Linked DNA regions of Homo sapiens: region 1 is linked to region 2. The links are contacts of gene promoters, found by promoter capture Hi-C in blood cells and fetal thymus (Javierre and others, 2016). All regions are on one chromosome and are shown on one strand. The core of a region is centred on a gene start or on the middle of the fragment in contact, and the rest is flanking DNA. Distances in the headings are between cores, read along the strand shown.

What was found. Contacts are between HindIII fragments. The CHiCAGO score rates a contact against its expected background, and 5 or more counts as called.
Region 1: a contact is called between the fragment with the promoter of MAGEC1 here and the fragment with the promoter of MAGEC3 in region 2, in 11 of 17 cell types (neutrophils, total CD4 T cells, fetal thymus and 8 more). The highest score is 11.6, in neutrophils.

The regions. Positions count from the first base shown.
Region 1 is chrX:141,899,979-141,905,778 of GRCh38, forward strand. MAGEC1 (MAGE family member C1) reads left to right here and starts at 3,916. Exons shown (of 4, transcript NM_005462.5): 1 at 3,916-4,000; 2 at 4,739-4,836; 3 at 4,992-5,098; 4 at 5,431-5,800. The coding sequence starts at 5,095. RefSeq lists an enhancer at 4,032-5,231. The HindIII fragment of the contact is 6,965 bases long and covers 1-5,326 here.
Region 2 is chrX:141,834,833-141,840,377 of GRCh38, forward strand. MAGEC3 (MAGE family member C3) reads left to right here and starts at 3,484. Exons shown (of 8, transcript NM_138702.1): 1 at 3,484-3,606. The coding sequence starts at 3,484. The HindIII fragment of the contact is 1,245 bases long and covers 3,372-4,616 here.

The sequences.
Region 1 (5,800 bases), core at 2,666-5,165, 66 kb after region 2:
GGTGTAGAGTGCCTGGAGGTGGCTGCTGAACTCTCAGCGCAAGAACCTAGAAGCAACTGGCCTTCCCCTGAGATAGACCATTCCTACTGCCTGCAGAAGTTCCCTGACTCATCCATCTCTCCCCCAGGTTCCTCTATGATAATGGCCTTTCGATGTGACTATTCGCTTTGGATAGTGACATTTCCATACCTAGGCTGGGCATCTTCAACACACTCTCAACGTATTACCAAACAGGCTGCAGAGTAAAATCTGATTTGCCAGATAATATATGGGTTTTAGGGATGTAATCCTAAGGTCAGAAATAGCCTATTTGAAATCTTTCTAATATTTGATACTTGTAGTATGATTTTAATGAGATGCATTATTTGAAACAGGGCACTGAAAACAGAGATGAACAGGCTTTTGTAGATGATCAAATGCCAATCTTTCCTTCATAAACTTTGTAGATGAGGAAAGGCTATAGACGTCACTTTGTAAATGATCCACAAGAAGGTGAATTTCTAAAAAACACAAAACAATATCTTGAAGACTGCTTAGGAGGTGACAAGGATACTTTGGGGGACATGCTGGTTTTGATGAGAAATAAACAGTAGTTAAATATCCTTCCACTCTCTCTTGTCTGTGTACCTGCCCCACAAGAAAATCCTGGCTTGCAGTGAGCCACAGGCCCATGTATAGCTGTTCAGGTATGTTCCGTCATATGGAGGGTAGCAGAGGCTCACAGGGTAGATTATTTACCGTACACGAAAAATATGACAGAATTCTCAGCCTAAAGAAATTATACAGGTTATTAAAAAGGACAGTGCCAAGTGCTGTTGAGGGAATAACGTAGACCCTCCCTGCCAAGACTTACAGAATTGTTTTAAAACTGGATGTAATCCTGAATTTGAAACCACCAGTCACCTCGTAGGTGCAAGAAAAAGTTGGAAGATTTCAAGGCTACGAGGACATTCCCAGAAACAATTCCAAGCAATGAAGGCACTTACTGTCATCAATTATAATAGTTGCTTTTCATTGAGCACCGTAATAACATATGGGAGAGATTGCAAGTGCCCATCTCCATCTTGTCTAGCTCGCCTTCCTGGCGGGTTCATTTGTAGTTAGACAGAAGCCAGTGTATCATTCCCATGCTTTCATTTCCGTTCAGCACTTAACATCTGTTGTGACGTGGAGCTATAAGGTGACAGCAGCTTGGATTCCTGGCTGAGGTGAAAGCCAGGACCCGCCGTGGATTAGTTTCTTATACCATAACAGAATACCACAGACGGGGTGACTTAAACAATACAAATGAATTTTCTCCCATTTCTGGAGGCTAAATATCTAAGATCAAGATGTGGGCCAGTTTGATTTCTTCCCTGGCCTCTCCGTGGCTTGCTGATGGCCACTTTCTCACTAAATTCTTACATGGTTTTTCCTTGGTCTGTGTGTCTGTATCTTAATCTGCTCTTTTATGAGGACACCTGTCATACTGAATATGAGCCTAACCTTAAGACCTCATTTTACCTTAATTACCTCTTTAAAGTTTCTATCTTCAAATACAGTCACATTCTGGGATACTGGGTTTTAAGACGGATATATGAATTTTGGGGGAGATTCAAAATTCAGCCCATAATACCCTGCCAACTAAATTCAGAATTTATGTACAAAAAAGTAAACGTGTTGAGTCATGTAAAAATGAAGGATTTTTTTGTTGTTGTTCCAAGAGCTTACTGTTATTTTATCTGCCTCCTGGACTGCTCCTCATCCTTTTCTTAGGCTTATTTCAATACTTTCCTTACAAATAAATACTGCATATATTGTTGTTGCAAAAACTTAAAAAAAGAGGTAGAAATCACAATTCTCCCTTTTGGAAAGTTCCTCCAAAATTCAGCCCCCTATTCAGAAGTTTCCACAATTAACCGTGTGGTGTTTAAATTTAAAAGCTGATTTAGAATTTTGAGAAGATTGATGTGGTTTTTAAAGTAAAATTTATACATATATGAGCTTATGTATGTGTTTATAACTACACATGGGTAATAATATACATATAGGTCTGCCACTTCCCTTTCCACTATTATAGATTCAATTGCACCCCCACTGAAGTCTTATGTTGAAATTAACATGTGGCATTATTTGGAGACGGGATTATCTCAGAGGCAAGGAAGTTAAAATGTGGTTATTAAAGAAGAGCTGGTACTATTCCTATGCAAACATCCTTTGTTTATTAATAAACATACTTTATTCACATTTATTTCCTTGTCACGAAAGTCTATTTTCTGTCCCAAGATACCCTGAGGATACGCCATTACACTTGTTCATCATGTCTCTTTAAATGCCCTTTGGCTGTGCCAGTTCACTGAGACTTCTCTTGATTTTGAAAACATTGACAGTTTGGAGGTGTATGGTCAGGTATTTTGTAAAATAGCCTTTGATTGGGAATTAAGTGATTATTTTTTATGATTTGATGTAGGTTACGTTTTCTCGGAAGATGAACAGAGAAGTGAAGTGCCATTCTTATCATATCATACCGACGGCACATAATACCAACACAATTTGTCACTGATGATGTTACTTTGATCACCATGGTGACCTAGTGTTTGTCAGTTTTCTTCAGGGTAAAGTCACATTACTTTTTTCCCTGTGTCATACTGTCATCTTGGGAAGGATAGGAAGACCCAGGACCAGCCAGTAGTCAGATGAGGCCTCTGAGGGAAAACTGCAGAAACCTCCTGCCCACAAAGAAGAGGATCCACAGAAACCAGCTCCCCACCTGTTGTCATCCCTGGGAGGCCCAGGGGCATGTTGACCCACAGTGCTGTCCCCTGACGTCTTAGCGTGTAGAAAGAGGAGAAGGCTGTGCTTAGGTGAGTCTCACTTCAGATCATGAGAGCGGAAGATCAGGAGGGGGGCCTTCTAGGCATCCCCAGGCTGATACAGAGGATGGACTGGTGAGCTACCCCACCACGGACACAGGAGGATCCCCAAAAACCTGCCCGTTTTCACTGCTAGGAGGCCTTGGGCAGGGCCATTAGGGAGAGACGCTAGCGTGCTCCAGTCCCTCTTGGGGGGTTCATGGAAATGGGAACCTTGATCTGAAAAACAGTCCCTGGAGAGAAGAGGGAGGGAGTGGAGGCCGTATCAGGAATAATAGGTTGAGGAAGACTGAGGGTCCCTCCCATGCCATTTCAGACGGAGGGCAGTGGAGCCCTACCTGGAGTCTGGGAGGCCATACCCCACTGTGGATGGATGTGATTCTACCTCTCTTGCACCTTGCAGGTCTCAAGGATGGGAGGGGCTTATTCGGAGGTGAAAGACTCAGATGCATAGAGGCAGGGAGCCCAGACAATGTCAGGAGTCCAGGAACAGCCTCTCAGGAAGGCAGGAAGGGAACACCCATGACTGGTAGTGCTGCCTGTCCTGTCCCTGTGCCTGCTGCCAGCCATGGAGGAGCCCATCAGGGTCCCCAGATTTACAAATTTCTGACTTCCATTTTGGGAGTCAGCCAGAGGGGAGATTTTCTCTGAGGAGGGCAGCTTCAGTTAAACAGAGGGAGTAGCCCCAGGGCTGGCCACTCAACAAGAAGAGAACTCTGTCGAAGGACAGTGACCTCCGAACACGGGGGAGGCACAGGCTGCACCCTGCCACTCCCTGCTGTCAGCCCTGGAAAAAGGTGGGGTGTGAGTGTCAAGGACTGGGGAGGTGGGAGGGAAGAGGTCAGCAGGGCTTAGGGAGTGAGCAGAAAGGTTTGGAGCACATCCTGGAGGTGGGAAGGAAGGGATGGAAAGGAGGCTGACAAGCGGGCGGCGGGGGGGGGGCGCCTTCCTCCTCTGAGAGGAGGCCCCGCCCCACGCTATCCGGGCTGTCAGCCCTGATCAACCCTGACAGAGTTCCCGGATGTGCTTTGCCGGATGTGCTTTCCCGGCGGCCATCTTGGGAGTCTGAAGGACCTGAGGCATTTTGTGACGAGGATCGTCTCAGGTCAGCGGAGGGAGGAGACTTATAGACCTATCCAGTCTTCAAGGTGAGGGCCCCGAGGGAGAAGTGAGGGACAACCCCACCACAGAGAGAAGCAGCCCTGGCCTGCCCTATCCCTGCGGTGGCACTTGTAGGTGGCGGAAACGAAGATGGTAGCCGAGGGCTGAGGGACGTGTCCTCACGGCAGAAGAAGGGAGGAAATGCCGGCCCTCTAGAGAATAAATAGGAAGGCATTGAGGAGGACCGGGGGAACCCCCACCTCAGAGGACAGATTCCCAGAGATTCCCACCCTGCTCCTCAAATCAGCCCCCATAGAGCTCCCCAGGTGGCTGAGGCTGAGCGGCCACCCTCTCACTGCTGGGTGAGGGGTGTAGGGGAGGGGGAGGAGGAGGCCTTGTTCTGGGGGTCCCATGGCAAGTCAGCATGGGGAGCTGCCTCCAGTTGGCAGAGGGAAGATTCCCAGGCCCTGCTGGGAACAAGAGTGAGGACTGAGGGGTCACATGTGCGTCAGAACAGACGTGAGGCCACAGGGACCGCCCCCGTGGTAGAGTGCTGGGAGGTGGCTGCCACCTCACTACCTCCCACTGCTCTCAGTGATGTGGAGTTTTCCTGAGGTTTTTCCTCAGGCCAGCAGAGTGGTGGGGGCCTGGCCCTGTCTGAGAAAATGTGACAATGCTAATTGAATTCTGAGGGGGTCACGAACCTCAGAATTGTGGGACTCTGGGAGTCTGGCCAGCCCCAGCTGCCGTCTTAGCTGGAGGGGCTCCCTCCCTTCCTCTTGCAGGTGCTCCAGAAAGCAGGAGTTGAAGACCTGGGTGTGAGGGACACATACATCCTAAAAGCACCACAGCAGAGGAGGCCCAGGCAGTGCCAGGAGTCAAGGTGAGTGCACGACCTGACTGTGTACCAAGGGCCCTACCCCCAGAAACAGGGCAGACCTGGCAGCACCCGGCCTGTAGCCACCCACTGTCATTCCTGGTGCCTCAGGCTCTGCCTGCCAGCTGTGCCCCGAGGTGCTTTCTCGCGTCCTTCTACAGGTTCCCAGAAGACAAACCCCCTAGGAAGACAGGCGACCTGTGAGGCCCTAGAGCACCACCTTAAGAGAAGAAGAGCTGTAAGCCGGCCTTTGTCAGAGCCATCATGGGTGAGTTTCTCAGCTGAGGCCACTGGCACTGTCCCTCTCTCCCTCAGTCCTGTGGGATCCCATCATACCTATTCGTGTTCACACGTTTACCTGCTGCTCCTGAACAATATTCATCATGCCTCTCTTTCTAAACCTTCCACGCCCCAGCTTTGAGCAAGGCTTCCAGAAGGCAATTTTCATACTGGAGTTGGTAGATGCAGAGGATCCCCCAGATGAGGAAGAGGAGGAAGCTTCCTCCATTTTCTCTTCCTCTTTCCACTTTTTATTCCCCTCGTCCTCCTCCTGTTTTTCTTTCTCATCCTCATCCTCCTCTCTGCTTCTGCGTTCTCCAGGGGACAAGGATATGCCTACTGCTGGGATGCCGAGTCTTCTCCAGAGTTCCTCTGAGAGTCCTCAGAGTTGTCCTGAGGGGGAGGACTCCCAGTCTCCTCTCCAGATTCCCCAGAGTTCTCCTGAGAGCGACGACACCCTGTATCCTCTCCAGAGTCCTCAGAGTCGTTCTGAGGGGGAGGACTCCTCGGATCCTCTCCAGAGACCTCCTGAGGGGAAGGACTCCCAGTCTCCTCTCCAGATTCCCCAGAGTTCTCCTGAGGGCGACGACACCCAGTCTCCTCTCCAGAATTCTCAGAGTTCTCCTGAGGGGAAGGACTCCCTGTCTCCTCTAGAGATTTCTCAGAGCCCTCCTGAGGGTGAGGATGTCCA
Region 2 (5,545 bases), core at 2,234-4,733:
TTATTCTTTGTTCAGTCATTTAGCTCCTTTATGGGAACAGGGGGCTTGGGGGACAGTGAGGAGATATCTGGGGCTGTGAGTAGTTGCAGTCAGGAAGTTTTTTTCTTAGTTGTTGGTTTGTTTCTTAGTTGCTCAGTTTGATTTTTTGGCTCCTATGCACTGGCATCAGCAGCACCGTGTTGGGGGCATGCTCTCATCTGTTGGTGAAGAATGGCCTTTTTGTGTTTCAGTTTACTCCCTCTCAAAGTGAGAAATTCATTTTCATAAAAAGTCCAGGGTTGTTGAGGTTTTTGTTTTGTTTGACCCTATGTATTTTTCTGTGCAGAAGGCTGTGGCTATGATTCTCAAGAGATTGCTTCTACTTCTCTCTGATATTCTGTCTGTTTAGAAGGAAGATAAACTACAGGTTGGCAGGTAGTTAGGGAGGCAATCACATCGGTTGTATGGCTTTGCATCTTGTCCAGCATTTAGTTTCTCAGGAATGCTTATTTGCAGTGGAGAAACAAGCTCCACACAGTGCAGCCTACACTTCCTCCAGATCTGCTCAAGTCTAATTTCCTTGCTTCTTCAAATTGGAATATCTGGACCAAGGTAGTGATAGGGGTTATATATTGATTTTTGAGTCTTCTTTCAATCTGGGCCAAATTATACTGGATCTGAATCATACCTCAAGAATTATATTGATTAAGACTCAGTTTTGTTTCAAGTTTCAGCATTGATGAATCCTTTCTGTTCATTTTGGTTAGTCACAGGGTGAGAGGTTTTATAAGCCAACACTATTTCCGCTTGCTTTCCCATAGCTTATTCAGTATATTGAAAAATTTTCAGGAAACAACAGCAAAATCCTACATAATATTCCTTGTTGAATATCAAATTTCTGTTTTTGACTTTCCATTGGAATAAGTCAGGAATGTCTACGTAAGACAATGCTTGAGGGTAAAAGATGAGTGAATGCGGAGATCTTTGTGAGATTGAGATGGCTGGCATCAGCTCTGAAGCCATGCGATCATTAATAGTAAGTTTCTGCTCTGCCATTTACAGATGCTGTAATCTGAATCGATCTTTCAATTTGTTCAAAATTCAGTTTTCTTTTAACTTTGTAAAATAAAAATAACTCTTGTTACTACATGTTGGGACATTTTTAACAGATTAAATGTGATAATATAAATCTGAAGTATTGAGCACTGTACCTGGCATAGAATGAGCTCATTATAATATCAGTCTCCTTATTCTTTCCCTTGTCTAACCATCAGTGGTGAGAAACAGCTGTTGATTTGCCAAAATATATGCATAATTTTATAAATGAAAACATCCAAAATCTCTTTGGGTGGCCTATTAAGGAATGAGCTACAGGGTTTTTCACCTTTATTACTATTGACATTTTGAGACAGATAGTTCTGTGGGCTTTTTTGAGGGGGTGTCATCTTGCTGAATTTAGAATGATTAGCAGCATTCCTAGTTTCTATTCAATAGATGCCGATAGCACCAAGAGCCATCCCAGTTGTGACAACCAAAAATATTTCCAGACTGCAAAATGTCTTCTTGGGATGGGGTGCAAAATCACCCCCAATCTGAGCACTACTGAGCTAGAGGAATGAAAAGGACATTGTGTTGGAAGAGGGTAGGGACTTAAGCTTTGAAATGTTGTTCATAGCTTGGAAGAGGCCCACCTTAGCCGTTTCTGCCATTGGGTGAACTAGGCTTTTTGTGCCTAGGTGTTAGTGAATGGATGTCAGAGCAGAAGGTAGGAGACAGGAGAAGAGTCTTCTCTATTTAGAGGGAATGGAAAAGATGCAGGGCAGTGTCAGAAGGTTTCAGATCTCTCATGAGCAAATGCAAAACTTCTGTGTTCTCAAGACCGGAAACACATTTCTCAGCCAAGGGAAGAGGCTAATTGAGAGGAGTGATCGTGGCTCTTCTTCATTTTCTTAGTAAGCTCCTGAAGGTGGCAAGACCGCAGAAAAGCAATGCATTTAATACCTCAGGGACTTGTTAGTGCCTGAAATTGAACATGGAGGCATTGGGATGATTTCATTGTGCCTCAGAAGTTATTAAACTGAGTCAGGCAAGTCTGCACTCTGGCTCCCCATGTGCAGGTGCAAGCAGTGGCCCCAGTGGGGATCCGAGGGCAGTTCCCTGGCTGGTGGGGTAATGTTCCAGGCAGGAACACAGCTGCCTCTGCTGCACAAAAAATCTGCCTGAAAAGTGGGAGGCAGCAGGTTGTAATAAGCCCCACTCAGCTCCCACACACTTGGCAAGTCAGTTTTCATACCCACAGTGTTCTGCTAGCAGCAGCAGCTAACTGGGTTTCAAGTGGCCCGTGCTCAGAATTTAAAACCATCCCAGGCCATAAGCTTTCCCTATGGACACAGAAACCATATCTTTCAGGCTGCATCCTTTCCAGTCCACCTGTGAAGCAGGGCCATGCAGCTCATGTGCCTTGTTGCCGTAGCACACTTCTCACTTGCCCCTCGGTTCTGGCCAATCAGCTTTGTCCTTACTAAGGATTATATCACAAATCCCAGTTGGGCTCTTCTCTCAAACTGTGACTGCAGCCTGAGTTAGACTTCTGCAACGTCCCGTGAGGTGGGATCAGGAATGGCTTCCCTCCATTCTTGCTGGAATCTGGGTCTGCACACAAAGCATGTCCCGATGCTGCTCCTTCTTATATATTCCTTACTTTTCACTGAATCACCTCTAGAGCTGAGTAGGTTTGAAGTCCTCCCTCATGACTTGTATTGCCTGGCTCGCCTGTGGGAGTATATGTCATGACAGCAATCTATCCCTCTCTCATGCTCTGGGGACTAATGGTTTTCCATCTGTTTTATGATGTAGTCTGTTGCCTGCCACTTCATTCAAAGGGTCTGTGGTTTCTTTCAGTTTTTCTGTTAAGTTCTTACATTGTTTCTTCGAATAAATTTTACAGCATGAATCTCTACATGCCATTTTGTCTTACCAAGTGGGATAAGTATGCTTATAATGCTTCCAATCTGCCATCTTGGAAAAAAAGAAAAAAAAAACTTTAAATATTTTGTCTGTAATGTGCTATGGAAGAGACCTTTTCACATTGTATCTGTTTAGGAATTGATGGGCCTCCTGTATCTCAATGTCTAAGTGTCTTGCTCGACTTAGGAAGTGTCATCTATTATTTCAATAAATAGGTCTTTGAAAACATGTTTTCTCTCTTTGCCTTCTGGGCTATCAGTGATTTTTATATTTGGTCACTTTATGTTGTTAGATAGATTCCAAAGGTTTATTTTATTATTTTCTTTTTTTCTTTATTTTTGTCTGACAGCGTTATTTCAAAAAAAACTGTCTTCAAGCAAAATGTGATCTTAACATAAGTCAGTTATGATTGAGTATATTGTTGAAGCTTTCATGTGTATTTTTTAGTTTATTCACTGCATTCTTTGGCTCCAGAATTTCTGTTCGTTCCTTTTTTATGGTCTCTATCTCTTTGGTAAAGACAGGGTGGCAGTGGCCATGCTGCTGCCCTGCCACTGGGTGTTGGATGCCACCTTCAGTGATGGCAGTCTAGGCCAGTGGGTGAAAAACACATGTGCCACATATGCCTTATCCCCAGTGGTGCTCCCACCTCAGCCCCAGGTGTGGTAGCCCATGAATGCTCATGTCTAAGCCCCAGGTTAACAGCCAGCTCTTCTTTTGCATCTCAGCCTCAGTGTTGCTTGGCTCCAAGACAGTGTGCAGTCTGTTGGGGGTGAGGCTCTAAGATGCTATCTTGCCCAGCCTTGATGTTCATGTCTTTCCCTTGGTTGCAGTAGCCTGTGGTCGCTCATGTCTGAATCTCCAGGGAAACATCAGACATTTAGTTTGCACCTAGGCCTCAATGCCACTGGGCTCCAGGACAGTATGTAGTTCATCGGGGGTGAGGCTCTGCAGTGGTGCCTCATTTGTGCCTCAGTCCTAAAAGCAGCAGCCCACGCCTTCGTCCCACCTCTGCACCAGATGCTGTAGTCTGTAGTCACTGATGCCTATGTCCCTGGGGCAGCAGTTCGTGCTTCTCTTGCACCTCAGCCCTGGGCTACTGGGCTCCAGGACAGTGCTCAGTCTGTTGAGGGCAGGGCTCTAAAATGGTACTTTGTTGTAGCTGCTTAAGTCTCAAGAAGTGTGAGGGACCCAGCGGGAGCTTTCTCCCTGAAGCAGTGCCATCATACAATCTCCTGGCAGCTTTCTATGTTAGTTTCGGGGCCCATGATGGTTGAAGGGATCTCCTGTGGCTGGGATTATAGGAGTCTATAGTGAGAATGTAAACTACTGAGGCTCTCTCACCTATCCTTTCTCTGTATTTGGAGTCTCTCAGCTCACAGCTGATCCTGGATGAGCAGGCTGCCTTGATTCCCTCTCCATCTCTGCTTTAAGTATTGCCTATCACTTTTCTAATGGATTCCAGTGATTTCCTTTGAATTATATATTCAAAGTGTGATTATCGACTCACCGTTTGGTTATTTTTAATGGAGAAAGTGAGTACAAAATGCCTCTAGTCTGCCATATTCATGGTTTCCAAGAAATAATTTTTAAAGGTTTTTAAATATTTTATGTAATTATAATGATTATGGGCATAAGAAGGATTATGGAGAAGAACGGAGCAAAATAAAAGCTTCATTCACTCTGCTGTCATATTTGATTATATCTTGAGGTCAAATTGATCTTTGCTATTGTCTTGGCTGCCGGCTCTGGCTACAGCTAATCCTGGGCAGGCTTTGCAGCTCCTACCACTTCCAGGCCCACAGCTGCAATCCCAAGCTTGCTCACCAAAACAAGTGTTTATTCATTATATCTTCAGTAGATTTTATTTTATAAATATGAATTGTTTATATGCATTTCTAATATGTCAAATGCTTTACTAGCTTTTTAATATCTTTATATCCATTTTCCCTGGATCATTACTTACTGTTCTTAACTCAGTGGTTCTTAACTGGAAGAGATTTTGCCACTTAGGGGATACTTGCCAATATCTAGAAATATTGTTGGTTGTCATAATTGGTGGCAGCAGGGAATGCTACTGGTATTTAATAAGCAGAGACAGAGATGCTTCTAAGCGTCTTATTGGACAAAGGACGACCTCACACAAGAAAGAATTATACTGCCTAAAATGTGATGGTGCTGACAGTGAGAAACCCTGAGTTTAACATAATTTGCTCAGAACTCTAAAAATGATTCACTTTCCAAAAATTTGCTGCATTTTTTCTTCTGGTCAGAATGTGCACAATGGAAATTCTTCCTGAAGGATTTGTGTGAGGAGACCTATTCTATAGCTGTTAAATGATTGGCAGGGAGGTTGATAGATGGAGGTGAAGTCAGCCAAAACTTAACTGATATTTAACAGCCAGGAAATACCCAACCTGGAAAGTATTCATTCATAGCATCACAAACCACTAAAGAAAAGTGATATTTTACCTCTGAGAAAGTTAACAGCAAAAGTATAGTCTTTCTAATTAGTTTTTAGCTTGCAATCTAAATAAATGACAAGTAGAGAATATCAGGTCATAAAATATCATTTAATTTTAAGAAATATTTTCATAAG